Regions from separate parts of the Homo sapiens genome. Here region 1 is linked to region 2. The links are contacts of gene promoters, found by promoter capture Hi-C in human tissues and cell types (Jung and others, 2019). All regions are on one chromosome and are shown on one strand. Each heading gives the region's core, a stretch centred on a gene start or on the middle of the fragment in contact. The rest is flanking DNA. Distances are from core to core; before and after follow the strand shown. Region 1 overlaps RAPH1 (Ras association (RalGDS/AF-6) and pleckstrin homology domains 1). Region 2 holds the start of ABI2 (abl interactor 2).

Evidence for each region. Contacts are between HindIII fragments. The study calls those that stand out against the background at their distance.
Region 1: a contact is called between a fragment that was not itself captured here and the fragment with the promoter of ABI2 in region 2, in 1 of the 25 tissues and cell types used here (stomach).

Annotation. Positions count from the first base shown.
Region 1 is chr2:203,457,520-203,460,921 of GRCh38, reverse strand. RAPH1 (Ras association (RalGDS/AF-6) and pleckstrin homology domains 1) reads left to right here. Exons shown (of 14, transcript NM_213589.3): 7 at 894-1,015; 8 at 3,327-3,392. Among named protein-coding and RNA genes, the nearest start is that of RAPH1, 76 kb to the left of the region's middle. The HindIII fragment of the contact is 4,574 bases long and covers 1-3,402 here.
Region 2 is chr2:203,326,470-203,329,673 of GRCh38, reverse strand. It overlaps ABI2 (abl interactor 2), which reads right to left and starts at 1,280. Exons shown (of 12, transcript NM_001375670.1): 1 at 1,043-1,280. The coding sequence starts at 1,159. RefSeq lists silencers at 712-1,061, 1,338-1,525, 1,282-1,621 and an enhancer at 1,423-2,393. The HindIII fragment of the contact is 25,150 bases long and covers 1-3,204 here.

The DNA.
Region 1 (3,402 bases), core at 304-2,803, 130 kb before region 2:
GATGGTCTTGATCTCCTGACCTTGTGATCCACCTGCCTTGGCCTCCCAAAGTGCTGGGATTACAGGCGTGAACCACCACGCCTGGCCTCATCTTTATATATTTTTTCGATAAAATTACCTTTCATAATTTGGCTTCTTTACATTATTTTTTTCTGAAGTGTTTTAAGAGTTCTTTGAATACAAGATCATTTCCAATTCACTTCAGATTTTATAATGGCTAAAACAAAGTTTTTTTAAAAGGTAACAAAATAGTTTTTTTTTTTTCAAATAAGAACTGGATAGACTGATGCATTTACTAAAAATTATTATGTTAACTTGAATTTGTACTGAAGTCTTTAAACCAGCATTTGACTCGGGAAACAAAGCACATTAACAAATTTCAAAGAATCCATATCTAGAACGTGTTCTTTAACATATGTTCAGTATACAGGACATGTTCTTTCATTTCTAATTTGGAAATTAGAAAATACATATATGTTTAAGATTAAACAACAGTCATGGATCAAAGAAGAAATCATCTTGGAAATGTTTTAAATGCCAAGAACTAAATAGGAAATACTTGATATCGAAACTTATAAGATGTAACTAATGTTTTATTTTTAAGGGTGGGATGGGAAAATGTTTAAGACTGAAGAATGGTGTCCTGCAAGTCAGAAAGCCTAGATTCTAGTCCTAGTTCTTCCATATATCAGCTGTGTGACCTTGGTTATGTCATTAACATAATTAAGGCATATTTCTTTGTTTGAAAAATTAGGGAATACCAGATAATTTTTAGGTGCTAAAATGTCGGTTAAGATTATGTGGTTCTGAGGTTAACTACTTCACAAAGTTTCATGTCTTTCATGCAACTCTAATGAATACTAACAAAATACGGATATTTTATTTTGGGACAGAGAGAATCTTTGAAGACCATGAAAACTTGGTTGAAAATCTTCTTAATTGGACAAGAGATAGCCAAAACAAGCTTATATTTATGGAGCGTATAGAAAAATATGCACTTTTCAAAAACCCACAGGTAAGACCAAACAACTTACAGAGGTCAGGATTTGTAAATATGTCTCCTATTTTATTCGATTACTGCTAAGTTAGAGTTAAAAGACTGGTAAACACCTGGTTGGAGCGATATACCTGCAAAATCCTATAGGAGCATCATCTACTACTGCTGCTGCTGCTGCTGCTGAGGTGGAAAGTCAGCTGGTGCCCACGTGTTAGGCCCTAAAGAGGTTCCCAGTCCTCCAGAACCAGATGGGGTGAGCCGTTTTGGAAGCAGAAGTATAGCTCTAGTGAGTTACCAGGTCTTTTGGCTCTGTAATCCAGAGCTGTGTTGAACCCAGCTGTTTATTTGGTGAGTTTGTCATCTCATCAAAGAAAAGTACTTCTCTACTCCAGCCATTTATCCAGTTGACACTTCTTTTGGAATTACTTTTTAAACATCCCAGTAACCTTGATTACAAATGGCTTTACATTCTAATAAACATACTTTGATTTATTTGACATCTTTCCTTATTCCAAAATAATGTTTGAGTTAATACTTCCCAATACCTAGACATTTTACAAAATTCAGTAGGTGAGGGAAAACAACTCCACAATAAAAAGTAGTAATGAAGAAAAATAGCAGCAGTGTTAAAGATATTGCATAGTTATGCTTCAAATGGCATAACCATGACACATCTTTTCTGGATGTTTTAGTGAAGAATACATATTTGGGGGTATCAACAGATCTTTTTGTAGGCAGTTATGAAAAATAATTACAGGCCAGGCGCAATGGCTCACTCCTGTAATCCCAGCACTTTGGGAGGCTGAGGTGGACTGATCACAAGGTCAGGAGATCGAGACCATCCTGGCTAACACGGTGAAACCCCGTCTCTACTAAAAATACAAAAAATTAGCCCAGCACTTTGGGAGTCTGAGGTGGATGGATCACAGGGTCAGGAGATCGAGACCATCCTGGCTAACACGGTGAAACCCTGTCTCTACTAAAAATACAAAAAATTAGCCGGGCGTGGTGTCGGGCGCCTGTAGTCCCAGCTACTTGGGAGGCTGAGGCAGGAGAATGGTGTGAATCCGGGAGTCGGAGCTTGCACTGAGCCGAGATTGTGCCACTGCACTCCAGCCTGGGTGACAGTGAGACTCCGTCTCCAAAAAAAAAAAGAGAAAAAGAAAAAGAAGTACAGTCAGCCCTCTATATCCATGGGTTCTGCATCTGTGGATTTGCACAACTGCAGATCTAAAATATTCAGAAAAATAATTCCAGGTTCTAAAAAACAAAACTTGAATATGCCACGCTTGAGTACTGCATTGAATTCATGCAAATTAAATGATAGGTAGGCATTGTATTAGGTATTGTAAGTAATCTAGAGATTATTTAAAGTACAAGGGAGAATGTGCATAGGTTATATGCAAATGTGACCCCATTTTTATAAGTGACTTTAAGCATCAGCAGATTTTGGTATACAGGGGAGATCCTAGAATCAATCTCCTATGGACAACAAGGGATGACTGTGTACTAATGAGTAGACTTCAGTTTGATTTTTTTGTTTGTTTGTTTTTTGTTTTTTTTTGAGATGGAGTCTCGCTCTGTTGCCCAGGCTGGAGTCAGTGGCGTGATCTTGGCTCACTGCAACCTCCGCCTCCAAGCGATTCTCCTACCTCAGCCTCCTGCATAGCTGGGACTACAGGTGCGTGCTGCCACACCTGGCTAATTTTGTATTTTTAGTAGAGACGGGGTTTCACCGTGTTGGTCAGGCTGGTCTTGAACTTCTGACCTCGTGATCCACCCGCCTTGGCCTCCCAGAGTGCTGGGATTACAGGTGTGAGCCACTGCACCCAGCCAGAATTCAGATTTTTAGTTGAGTCAAGTAAATGAGATTATTAATAAATGAGTCCCAGAGAATATGGGATTTCTTCTTAAAAAGCCAGAACATAAATTTTCTGCACCTAGATCAGTATATTTTAAGGAAATTTGCCTTACTTGTTGTACTTATGAATTTCTAAACCTTTCAGATCCTCTAACGTAGCTTTCATTAGATATCCCAAAACATATTTGCCAGCTGTTGAATGTAATACCACCTCACAGTCTGGGTAAGGACAGTTTATGACAAGTGGACAGGCAAGGAGGAGACTGGTGTTAAGCATTTTAGTGATGATGCCCATACACAGGTAACTTTTCAAAGTTTATTCTACTCTATACCAACAGAAATCAGAGTTGCTATTTCTCTAGAAGAAAACATACACACACCTGTGCCAAGGGAATAACAGAATGGATTTATGCTTTAACCTTCTTTTTTTCTCTCCCACCCATCCCTTCCATATGTTTGTTTTTCCAGAATTATCTTTTGGGGAAAAAAGAAACAGCTGAGATGGCAGATAGAAACAAAGAAGTCCTCTTGGAGGTATGACAAC
Region 2 (3,204 bases), core at 31-2,530:
AACAGTTTAACATATTGCTTCCATTTCCATCTTTATCCCAAGAGAATTTAAACGGGAAAGAAAAAAAATGGAGGCAGAACCCATAATTCAAAATAACCATAAAAAAAAAAGCAAAAGATTTTAGATTTTGCAAACTGTGCCTTTTAACCTGCTATCCTTTCAAGTAATTTTTAAAGAAGGATTTTTTTAATCCACAGAATATTTTGCTTCATCCAGGAGCAGCTGGATCTCATACCATCCGGTATCCCCCGCCTCCATACACACGCCCCTACCACTATCAGCCCTTGAGCCAAACGATCCATCACGGTAAAAAAAAAAAAAAAAAAAAAAAATTAAACCAGGAGGTTCATCTTCCCAATTCTCTCTAAGAAACAGTCATAGTCTGTCCTCCTCCCACCCCCAGGAAAACTGCCTATTCTAACAGAACTAGGAGGGAGGGGGGAATCAGCTCATCATCCTTCTCCATAGGGAAAAAAATGGCATTAACTTCCAACAAGAAACTGCTGCTCTTCTACCGTATCCCCTTTAGAACATAAAATATTAAGAAAGGGTTTCTGAAGCATTCACAGGAACAGAAAACTGAAGCCTGAAGCACTTCACTCTGCAGCAAGATAACCCCTTAAAAATCATCCAGAATTTGGGGGATGGAGGTAACCCGTCAACACCCGCGACACCCCTACCCTAAGGTGGGGAGCAGGATTCCGTCAAACAGAAAATGCCACTCTCCGCCCCCTCCGCCATCCGGAACGCTGACCGGCGCGGAGTGCGGGGGCGGCCGAGGGCGGGAGCGGCGAGGAGGCGGGACGCGACACACGCACCACGCCGAGAACTGCTTCACCGCTTTTTTAAAGGTTTTTAAAATGCAGTTTCTCCAGCCGGAGAATTCCCACCCATTCACCAGCCCCAGCCCTCACCCAGCTCCCCACCCCCATCGGGGGCTCCGCTGGGCCGTGTCCCCGAGGCGGCCTCGGCCCCACGCCCCGAGGCGCGCGGCCCCCGGCGGGGGGGTCCCCGACGCGGCCCAGCTGGGGATGCTTCGCACCTGTATGTAGTTGTTCTCGCAGTAATCGGCCACCCGTTCCAGATTTGTGTAGCTGTCGAAGAGGGCCCGGCGGCCCCCCGGGATTTCCTCTTCCAGCAGCATCTGCAGCTCCGCCATCTTCACATCCTCCTCCTCCTCCTCCTCATACAGGTCGCAGAGGGAGCGGCGGCCGCAGCGCCAAGGAAACCCAGGACCGGGAGAGGAGGAGCGGCGGCGACGGCGGCGGTAACTCGGAAGGAGCGAGAAACAGCCCCAGCGCGCGACAGGGGAGGGGGCGACGGGGGCGGGGCGCGAGCCGACGGACTCCGAGGACGGTCACCGCGGCGACGGCCGGCCGGGCGCGCGCACGCGCGCTCCCTTCCCTCCGCCCCCGGGAGCCCGAAAAAGATTCCCACCCTCGCCCGCGCCGCCGGCCCCTCCCCCACTTCCGGCGTCTCCTAGCGACGGCGGGGGTAGGGGCCGGGATGCGCGCGGGAGTTGGTGGTGCAGTTAACCCTTCCGCCGCCCGCCCGCCGCTGGAGCGGCTGGAGAAGCCCCCACCTCCCGGCGGCCTTTGTTAGCCCGGCGGGAACACACCACCCTGCTCAGCTGGCTTCCTGCCGGCTCCCTCCGGGACTCATCTCGGCTCCGTCCCCATGGAGGTCATCGGCCTAGGGAACTTCTCGAGGCTTTTCTCCCTCTGCTGCTGACGGGAGGCCGAAGGAGGGCACAGCCTCCACTCTTGGGACCCTCCTCTGTGAAAGATCACACCTCAACAGGGCAGGAATAAAACTTCCACGCAGCTTTCAATGCCACCTGACTTCATTTTTCTCAGATTTGACCTCATCCTCTTTGTTGCAGTGAATTGCAGTTTCCTAACCCCAGCTTTCCTGCGCCCCTGCCTCTTTGCACTTCCCCACTAACGCTGTTCTCCCCTGCCAGATTAGCCCCTTTCTCTCCTGGTTTGCGGTGCCGTGGGCCTCAGCTTTTTATGTTTGCCATTTCTATGATTCGCTTCCTCACTCATAACCTTTTCTGTCATTTCTCTAATGCTATCAACTTCGCTGTCCTTTTTCCTATTCATGGATTCAGTATTTAAAATTTTGAAAACGATTTTGCTAGTAGTAATTGCCTTCTTCACAGGGCTGTTACATAGATAAAATCAACGTTTATTGTGAAAATACCTTGAAAAAACATTAAGTGCTACAAAAATTCAAGGCAGATAATTTTCCTCTTGCAGAGTTATAATTCTGTTTTTATTCTCCAGATACTGTGTCTTGTTTTCCTAAATCAGACTACCCCACACAATGTAATCTGGAAAAACTAAAACTCCTGACCATTGCTGAGATATGAAGCCATGACCTTTATTTGTGCTGTGGAAAATCAAAGTTGATTCCAGGCAGTACCATCTTAGACTTGTGTAGTTAGAACAAGATCCATTGTTTCAACACTTTTCTTAATCTGGTGATCTCTTGGCCCTCCTACAGTGAATTTTTTTCATTCAGATGATGAGGAAACTTATACTTTCAAAAAAAAATCACTTTAGGACGGGCGCGGTGGTTCACGCCTGTAATCCCAGCACTTTGGGAGGCCGAGGCGGGCGGATCACGAGGTCAGGAGATCGAGACCATCCTGGCTAACACAGTGAAAACCCGTCTCTACTAAAAATAAAAATAAAAAAATTAGCTGGGCATGGTGGCGGGCGCCTGTAGTCCCAGCTACTCGGGAAGCTGAGGCAGAAGAATGGCGTCATCCTGGGAGAAGAGCTTGCAGTGAGCGGAGATCGTGCCACTGCACTCCAGCCTGGGCGACAGAGCGAGACTCCGTCTCAAAAAAAAAAAAAATCACTTTAATACCATATCATTACAAATATCTGGAGCAAACCCTAATGTTATATTGGCTTCATGATACATACATTAGCAGAATGTATGAGTTTTCACTGTGGAACCTAAATTAAAGGATATTGAAAATGTTGGTCTAGTCCAACTAGTTTTATTCTTAAGCACTTTAACCATCTTCTGTAGTAGTGGTTCTCAAACTTCAGTGTGAGGAGCTTGTTAAAAATGAAAGCTGCAGGGTCACACACACTAAGATTCATTAGTTTGAGAGCATGAGTGATGGAAATGAGTAGTTATTTAAATGACACATCAACTTGCTTCAGTGAATACGACATATGAATAATC